2 separate regions of the Homo sapiens genome follow, and region 2 is linked to region 1. The links are contacts of gene promoters, found by promoter capture Hi-C in human tissues and cell types (Jung and others, 2019). All regions are on one chromosome and are shown on one strand. The core of a region is centred on a gene start or on the middle of the fragment in contact, and the rest is flanking DNA. Distances in the headings are between cores, read along the strand shown.

Region 1 (4,776 bases), core at 1,350-3,849:
TCTCCAGGTGCGCCCAGCCAGAGGCCTTGCTTCTTGGGAGCTGGAAGCCTGGCCAGTCCGACTCTGACCTGTCTGGTCTGGTCCGGTCCGACCCTGTGTTGGTCCCACAGGTTGCTGCTACACTTTCCCTTCTTGAAGCTCCACTGCCATGTTCCAGGACACCCTGTGTGTTCTCATTGCTGCCCCTGGCTGGGCTGGCTTTTGTCTGTAAGCAAAACTTCCAGTACCTTTTCTGGCAGTACCCTGGGGGCTCCTGAAGAACAGGACTGCTGAAAATGGGTGATATCAACAAACTCCGCAGGATTTCCTGGAGCTTAGAGAACTGCATGTGCCCACATCAGGCCCTGAGAAGCCCCCTTAGCTGCTGCAAAGGTTGGGGACATTTTTTGCTGAGTAGGTGAAAGCTGCCAGGGAGGGGGACATATGTGTCCCTAGAGATGGCGGGTCAGCAGGTTGGGGTTTGGGGCAGTCTTCAGGCCTGGAGCCCCGAGTGCCCTCAGGCAGCCTGCTTTCAGATAGAGTCTGAGGATGAGCACGGAGTGCAGGGGTCCCCTTTACCTGCATCCAGGGGTGTGGCCATGTTGCCCCTGACCAGCAGGGCTGCTTTGTTTGGCAGTCATTCATCAGAAAAGTGCACTGAAAGAAGCGCCCAGGGCCTCCCACCTGTGAGACACCACGCTGGGGAAGGGGGCGGTGCAGGTTCTAGGTTTGCATGTGGCAGCTCCTCCAGGCCTCACCCCAGCAGGTGGCACCGTGAGGGTGGGACGGGCCCCACCACTGCTTCCCTCTCACCTGATACCCAATCCTCTGGTCATCTTTCCCGTTCCGTGGCCCCGACTTCTTGGTCTTCGTAGCCAGGTATCTAAGACGTCCTGTGAGGACATCCAGATGGCTGCAATGTGGGGCTGCTTCTAAAGCTTGTTTGGAGTGTGGTGTGTTGGGATGCGCACCTGGTCACTCTCCCTCCCCCGCAGAGGTGTGTGGTTGAGGCCCTTTTGGAATGCCCTGCTGCCTTCCTGGCCAGCCTTTTCTGCGCCTCTGTCTCTGTGGTGGTCTGAGCTGTTGGCTCTCTGCCATGTCTTTAGCCACAGCCCTGCTTGAAGCCCTGAGGCTGAATACCCAGGCACCCGTATATTTCAGTCAAGTCCGCCTTAGCTTCCTGGAGCTGCCGCAACAAAGCAGCGCGAGCTGTGCAGCCTGAAGCAGCGGGAATTCACAGTCTAGGCTCTGGAGGCCGGAGTCTCAGATGAAGGCGCAGGCAAGGGCCCTCAGGTGCGGACGCCTCCTCCCTGCCAGGTGCCTTGCCTGCCTCCCTGTGCTCTGCACAGCAATGGCCCTGCAAGTCTTCTGCATCAGCTTTCTCTTCTGCGGACTCCTGCTCCTCTGGGTCAGGGCCCACGCCTGCTGCTTCTGAGAGCCCCTGTTTGTTAAGGATGCTCTCTGAGGTGCTGGGGTCTTCAGTCCATTGTTTTTTGGGGGGCACAGTTCAACCTGTAACGGCCCAAGGGGTTCTTCCTGCCCGCTGCACACATTCAGACCGTGGATTGCAATAAAGAAAAAAAGTTTAGGGCCGGGCGCAGTGGCTCACACCTGTAACCCCAGCACTTTGGGAGGCCGAGGCGGGTGGATCACGAGGTCAGAAGATCGAGACCATCCTGGCTAACACGGTGAAACCCCGTCTCTACTAAAAATACAAAAAATTAGCTGGGCGTGGTGATGCGCGCCTGTAGTCCCAGCTACTGGGGAGGCTGAGGCAGGAGAATGGCTTAAACCCGGGAGGCGGAGCTTGCAGTGAACTGAGATCGCGCCACTGCACTCCAGCCTGGGTGACAGAGCAAGACTCCGTCTCAAAAAAAAAAAACAAAAAAATTAATAGACACGGGCCGGCCAGGCCACATGTGAGATGGAGTTCGTCCTCAGATCATCTTGTCCAAAGCTCCTAGGTTAGGGGTTTTTTCAAAGGCAGTTTTGGGGGAGGGGGGCGGCGGCCAGGCGACTGGTGCTGATAATCATAGGGGTCGGAGCCGTCCACCTGCTGAGCCGCTTCTGGGGGGTCCTGATGCAGCCACGGGTGTCAGACAAGCAAAGACCCTGGAAGGCGGTCTCTGAGGGGCAGCTCCGCCATGGCGGGTTCACAGGAGGCAGGCAGAGCGCGCCTGCGGCCTCGGGGTGCTGGGCTTAGTGGGGCGCGGGCTCCTCATCAGCTTTACGAAGGCGTTGATTCCGGGGCAAGGCCTGTCATGGAAACTGCAGCCTAAATGTTAAGTCAGCGCGGCCCGATGGCCAGGAGTAACCGGGAGGGCGCCACGGGGTGCGCTACCGCAGCTCGCTGTTGGGGTTTTTCTCAGTGATAGAAATTTTGCAGAGGCGGCTTCAAACCTACGGCTCTGTCACTAACTTGCCGTCTCCAAACCTGCTTTGTGGAGGAGCGGATTTCCCGAAGCCTTCGGTCTCTACGGCCCCGCAGGGAGCAGCGCGTCTGACGCCTGAAGCCCGCCGCGGTCAGCCGGCCGACAGGGGGCGTGGGAGCCTGGCTTCCCAGGGGCGTCCACGGAGGCCAAGGCCCTGCCGGATGTCCCGCCCCGGCACCCCGGAAGGAGTCGCGAGAGAGGCGGCCCGCGCTGACGGTGTCCCTGGGGCTCTGCGCTCGTCCGGCCGGCCCCGGCCTCGCCGCCCCGCGCAGTACCCAGCCCGGCCCCGCCGACCCGCCTCTACTGCCGGCTCCGCGCCCTTCCCCGAGGGCTGGATGATGGGCTGTTTCGCCCTGCAAACGGTGGACACCGAGCTGACCGCGGACTCGGTGGAGTGGTGCCCGCTGCAAGGCTGCAGGCACCTGCTGGCGTGCGGGACCTACCAGCTGCGGCGGCCGGAGGACCGGCCTGCCGGCCCCCAGAACAAGGTGCGCGCGCCGCGGCTTCGGGAGGGGAGGGCGGGGCCGGCCACGAGGTTGAGGCCGAAAGGCGCACCGAATCGCCCAGGAGATGAAGAGGGGATATTGGCCCTTTGGCCAGGAGGTAGGCTGGAAACAGTTTAGAATCTTTTTAAAAAAATTGTTCTCGGCCGGGCGCAGTGGCTCACGCCTGTAATCCCAGCACTTTGGGAGGCCGAGGCGGACGGATCACGAGGTCAGGAGATCGAGACCATCCTGGCTAACATGGTGAAACCCCGTCTCTACTAAAAAAATACAAAACAATTAGCCGGGCGTGGTGGCGGCGCCTGTAGTCCCAGCCACTCGGGAGGCTGAGGCAGGAGAATGGCGTGAACCCGGGAGGCAGAGCTTGCAGTGAGCCGAGATCGCACCACTGCATTCCAGCCTGGGCGATACAGCAAGACTACATCTCAAAAAAAAGAAATTACTTTTTTCTGAGACAAGGTCTTGCACTGTCACCCAGGCTGGAGTGCAGCCTCGGACTCCAGGGCTCAGGGCATCCTCCCGCCTCAACCCCCTGAGTAGCTGGCACCACAGGCACGAGCCACCGCCCCCGGCCAACTTTAAAATCTTGAGAGCAGAACGTCTTCTATATACAGGTGTGGCCCAAGGGAATGGGTGGAATGTACAGTAAAGAGAAAGTGGGAATTATATCTTAACTTCTGGTGGGTACATATTAGGATCCAAATTGGGCACTGGAACAACAGGCGTAAGTCAGGACTGTCCCAGGCAAACTGGGTTCTGTGGTTACCCTAGCCATAGCTGGTCCCTGTTGGCCGGTTTAGAAGGAGCCTTCTCTACTGGGTCCAGGAGTGTTCACCTACTCATTAATAGACGTTTCTCCAGCTCAGAAAACCAGAGGTTCTCCTTCCAGGCAGAATTCCACTCCTTTAGTCATGGCAAACCTTTGAGTTCCTTGGATCCCTTTTCCCATCCTTTGGGTTCCTTCGTGTCTTGGGATAATCAGAGACTACCTCTGCATTTTTTGTAGGGTGGAATGGAAGTTAAGGAGCCTCAGGTCCGTTTAGGCCGTCTCTTCCTGTACAGTTTCAATGACAACAACTCTATTCACCCTCTGGTCGAGGTCCAAAGAAAAGATACTTCTGCAATCCTGGACATGAAATGGTATAACTGTGATAATCCCACTGGGTGTAGAATTTGTCATGAGTAGCAATCAGGGAAGCCTGATGCCTGATGCCTTCAACAAGACAGGCATTGCATCTCAACTTTGGATTTGTTTCTTTGCTGTCCCGCCTATCTTCCACCTGGGGAGTGCTTTACCTGGGGCTTATTTCCTTTGTCATGTTCCAGCCGGGGAAGTGATGGGAGTTTTCTGACTTCATAACCTGGGGCGTCTTTTGTTTGAGAACACAGTTGTAGGCTCTAGCCCACTTTTGGAGCTGAGATTTAAATGCAGTGGTGTGTGGCATAATTATGTTTTGGTCAACAATGGAGCACGTATACCATGGTGGTGCCTTAACGTAATGGAGATGCCCTATACAGGTGTACCAGTTTTTATCCTTTTTAATTTTTTTTTTTTTGAGGCAGGGTTTTGTTCCGTTGCCCAGGCTGGAATGCAGTCACGTGATCATAGCTCACTGCAGCCTTGAACTCCTGGGCTCAAGCAATTCTCTGTCTCAGCCTCTCGAGTAGCTGAGACTTCAGACTTCAGGTAGATGCCACCATGCCTCTTTTTTTTTTTTTTGAGACGGAGTCTCGCTCTGTCGCCCGGGCTAGAGTGCAGTGGCGCGGTCTCGGCTCACTGCAAGCTCCGCCTCCTGAGTTCACGCCATTCTCCTGCGTCAGCCTCCCTAAGAGCTCGGTCTACAGGCGCCCGCCACCACACC
Region 2 (4,776 bases), core at 1,261-3,760, 350 kb before region 1:
GGAGAAATATGTAATGTAAATGATGAGTTAACGAGTGCAGCAAACCAACATGCCACAGGTATACATATGCAACAAATCTGCACGTTGTGCACATGTACCCTAGAACTTAAAGTATAATGAAAAAAAAGAAAATTTATCCCCTCATTTCTCGTATCATTTTTTGACTTCCTTAAATTGGGCTTTGCCTTTCTCTGGTGCCTTCTGATTAGCTTAATAACTAATCTTCTGAATTCTTTTTCAGGTAAATCCGGGATTTCTTCTTGGTTTGGACCCATTGCTAGTGAGCTAGTGTGATTTCTTCGGGGTGTTAAGGAACCTTGTTTTGTCATATTGTCAGAGTTGGTTTTCTGGTTCCTTCTCATTTTGGTAGGCTCTGTCAGAGGGAAGGTCTAGGGCTCAAGGCTGTTGTTCAGATTCTTTTGTCCCATGGGGTGGTCCCTTGATGTAGGTAGTACTCTCCCCATTTTCCTAGAGCTGTGGCTTCCTGAGAGCTGAGCTATAGTGATTGTTGTCTCTCTTCTGGATCTAGCCATCCAGCAAGTCTACCGGGTTCTGGGCTGGTACTAGGGGTTGTCTGCACAGAGTCCTGTGATATGAACTGTCTGTGGGTCTCTCAGCTGTGGATACCAGCACAGTATTTTGGGTATCTCCCAGGTCCTGCTGGAGCAATCCGCTTCCTTCAGAGGGTCTATGGGTTCTCTCGGCTTTCCTGATTTATTTCTGCAGTCATTCTGGAGCAAAAGTTCACGATACAATCCTCCACAGGCTGCTCTGGCCATCCGAGTGGGAACTGCAATCTAGTCCTGCCTCCCGTCTGCCATGATCTCCAAAATGAGAAATCAGGTACTTGTTAAAACATGGAAAGAGGGATCACCTGCTCAACTATTGCAACCCAAATGGAAGGGACCATTTTCAGTGGTGCTGGACAAGCCTTCTGTGGTCAAAGTACTAGGATTAGGTAGTTGGATCCATCTTTCCAGGGTCAAGCCTGCAATAACTGAAGCCCTGGACCTGGAACCTGAAGCTCCTATCAGCCACTACACCTGTGAACCTGTGGGAACAGTGAAGTACCTGTTTAAAAGACAGCCGAAAAATAAGTAAATGCCTACCAACTTTCCTTGGTGTCTTTGTTGCATACTTATCGTAAGCTGGATATTGGTAGCTATTTTTTATATTTTTACAATTTGTTTTATTCAAAATGGATGGAATCACTTCCTTTGTAATAATTAACCAAAGTGTTTCAATTCATTTTTATAACAAGCATTCCTGACAGCATAGGTATCCACCCCCTGAAGTTCCCATTCTATAGGACAAAATAACAAATAAGTAATTTTTTTTTTGTTCCATAATGGTCACCCACAGCCTGTGTATACAGGAACCATGTCTTACTAGCAATCAGCTTTATTTCACAACAGAGCTTCCCTTTACCCCTCCAGCAATTAGTGGATTCTGGGTATTTATTAAGAACTTTAAATTTAACACAAAGACTTAAATACCACCAGCCCAGCCCTGGCAAAGGACTGTTGGTTTTGTTTATCTCCATCATCATCTAAATATACTGCCATCCTGATCCCAGCCCAATCTTGGGCCCTTAAGGAAATGACCTATCACCCTAACTACAAAGGAGGAACTCTCTTCAAACTAATGAGCCTGGATGACATACATGAATTCAAAATCATGGAAATGACAAGGGTTACAATGACAGGATAAGCAGTAAACCTACTCCAATCCCATCTGAGCAACCTTTCTGGAGTTGCATCCCCTCAGAAACCAATTTGGGGCCCAATATAAATGTACACAGAGCTAAAATTGCAGGTGCCACTTTGTATTAACAGAAGCGAAAATTCTGGTCCGGTCCTTGGAACCTTGAAAAGTCATCAATGTGCCGGACGCGGTGACTCACACCTGTAATCTCAGCACTTTGGGAGGCCAAGGCGGGCAGATCATGAGGTCAGGAGATTTGAGACCACTCTGGCTAACACAGTGAAACCCCATTTCTACTAAAAATACAAAAAACTCACACCTGTAATCCCAGCACTCTGGGAGGCCGAGGCAGGCAGATCATGAGGTCAGAAGATTTGAGACCATTCTGGCTAACACAGTGAAACCCCATTTCTACTAAAAATACAAAAAACTAGCCGGGCGTGGTGGCACGCGCCTGTAGTCCCAGCTACTCAGGAGGCTGAGGCAGAAGAATCGCTCGAACCTGGGAGGTGGAGGTTGCAGTGAGCTGAGATCGCACCATTGCACTCCAGCCTAGGCGACAGAGAGAGACTCCATCTCAAAAAATATAATAAATAAATAAATAAATAAATAAAAGTAAAGATAAAATAAAGTCATCAATGCAACTACACCCTGGAAGTTAATCCTTCACTCGATTACGTAAGCTATACAGTTACCCAAACCGCATCATTTAGATAACCTGTACGGTTTTCATGGAAACCATCCCTGGTTAAGGGCTTTAAAGGATGGACAGCCTAAGTATGGTCGAGGCAGGCCCACTAGCTGCATTCACGGTTTCCCTTGTGAAGAATGTACTAATCCTGAGACGTCTAGTTGCCTTTTGGTTCCCCAGTATGAAAATACCTCTGGGTGATTGTTACTGGACACTAAGCCTAACTACCTCCACTGGGAAAAGAGAACTGCTGGGGCAACTCAAGATACTTCCCAAGATCCTTTCCAGCCTTTAACCAGGGCCACCTTAGCAAAGACCTCAACCATATGGGAAAGTGAAAACAACAAGCTAGCCCATGTGTTCACCATAGAAAACAAGTTCTGTCTTGAAAAACAAGGAGCCTTTTTCCCGTGCGGGACCAGTTCCTACTTAGATTTACCAGCCAACTGGACTGGAACCTGTAACTTGTTATTTAGCTCCCAAAATTAATGTAGCTCCCAACAACCAATTCTTCACTATACCTTTAACTGCAACCACCAGACACAAATGAGCCATCCAACTCACACCCCTTTTGGTTGGGTTAGGAAGAACAGCAAGAGTAGAAACGGGAGTTAGCAGGCTTGCAATCTCCCTATCCTATCACTAACTTGTCCAGAGATTTTATGGAAAGCTCAGAAGACACTGCCCAAAGTATCGTCGCCATACAAAATCAGACAGACTCCTTGGCAGCAGTCACTTTACAGAATTGAAGGGGACTGGATCTCCTAACTGCTTAAAAAGGTGGCTTATGTCTTTTTCTAGAGGAAAAATGCTGTTTTTATGTCAACTAATCAGGATTAGTAAGGGATGCCGCCTGGAAATTAGCTGACTGGGCCCCTAAGATACGACAACAGCTGTCTGAGTCATGGGGCTCCTGGTCAGAAATGCTAAGTTGAGGTGCATGGCTCCTTCCTCTAGCCGGCCCATCACTAATGACTATATTTGCCTTGGTTTTTGGACCATGTTCATTAAATCTCTTAAACAAATTCATTTCCTCTCGCCCAGAGACCATCAAGCTTCAGATGATCATGAGACAAGGTTTCCAGCCAGTTCCAGGTAAAGACACCACCCCTGGCCATCCAGCAACTACCATGTCTCCACTAGACAGAGCAGGGTGAGAGTTCCATGATCCCCAATAGGTAGGAACTGTGCCCAAATCAGCATGAAGCAGTTACTGAAGAAAAAACCATCAGTCCCTCGGCCTCCTATAAAGATGATGGGGATCACATCTCGGGGGAAATGAGGCAGGAGAATAGGGTCTGGAGGCAAGGAACCTAAGGCCGATTTGTGCTGACTTCCTAGAACTAAATCAAAAGGAAAACTCCACCTCTCCACATCCAAGTAACAAAAGAAGAGGCTACTCCCTTTGCAACGCCCCCCATTCCACTGTATCGCAGACGAAAAATGGAAAGTACCTGATTGGTCGCCTCCCATGACCAATCAGAATGGTAGAGGGCCTGGTCTTCATTTACACAGGGTGTAAGCAGCTAACCAATGGGAAACCTCTAGAGAGTATTTAAACTCCAGAAAATTCTGTAACCAGGGCTCTTGAGCCGTTTACGCGAGCCCGATCCCACACTATGGAATGTACTTTTGTTTCAATAAATCTGTGCTTTCATTTCTTCATTTCTTCATTCCTTTGTTGCTTTGTGCATCTTGTGCAATTCTTTGTTCAAACCGCCAAGAACCTGGACAACTCGTAGTCAAGACCCTCCCCAGATAATACCATCTAATGTAGAAGATTCCTTCAGTGTGGAAGGGTGAGGCTGCAATGAGCTGAGATTGCACACCATCACACCACTAAACTCCATCCTGGGTGACAGTGAGACTGTCTCCAAAAAAATGTAAAAATATAAAAAAAGATTTATACAAAGATTAATTTTTTTAAATTGGAGTGGCTAGATTAATATCAGATAAAGCAAACCTCCCAGTAAAACAAAATTACCCGAGACACAGGGAAACATGTATATAATGATAAAAAGGTCAATCCATCAAAAAAAAATAGCAAGTCTAAATATGTGTATACTCAACAACAGAGCTGCAAAATAAGTGATACAGAAACTGACAGAACTGAAAAGAGAAACAGACAAATCTGCAATTAAAGCTGGAGACTTCTACACCTCTCTCTTAACAATTTGTAGAATAGACAGAAAACCAGCAAGGATATAAAAGAGCTCAACAACACCATCAACCAAAAGAATCAATCAACATCTGTACATGCAGCACACAACAGCAGAATATACATTCTTTCCAAGTGCCCACAAAATAAATATCAAAATAGACCATATTCCGAGCCATGTAACAAACGTCAACAAATTTAAAATTAAAATTCTTTCAGTTTA

The links. The method cuts DNA at HindIII sites, captures the fragments that hold promoters and counts their contacts. A contact is called where the count stands out against the background at its distance.
Region 2: a fragment that was not itself captured here is called in contact with the fragment with the promoter of DPH7 in region 1 in 2 of the 25 tissues and cell types used here (H1 embryonic stem cells and dorsolateral prefrontal cortex).

The regions. Positions count from the first base shown.
Region 1 is chr9:137,576,748-137,581,523 of GRCh38, reverse strand. It overlaps DPH7 (diphthamide biosynthesis 7), which reads left to right and starts at 2,599. Exons shown (of 9, transcript NM_138778.5): 1 at 2,599-2,899; 2 at 3,921-4,054. The coding sequence starts at 2,747. RefSeq lists enhancers at 2,194-2,253, 1,348-2,319 and a silencer at 2,504-2,913. The HindIII fragment of the contact is 7,311 bases long and covers 138-4,776 here.
Region 2 is chr9:137,930,458-137,935,233 of GRCh38, reverse strand. The region is part of intron 6 of CACNA1B (calcium voltage-gated channel subunit alpha1 B); the gene reads right to left. Among named protein-coding and RNA genes, the nearest start is that of CACNA1B-AS1, 14 kb to the left of the region's middle. The HindIII fragment of the contact is 9,868 bases long and covers 1-4,776 here.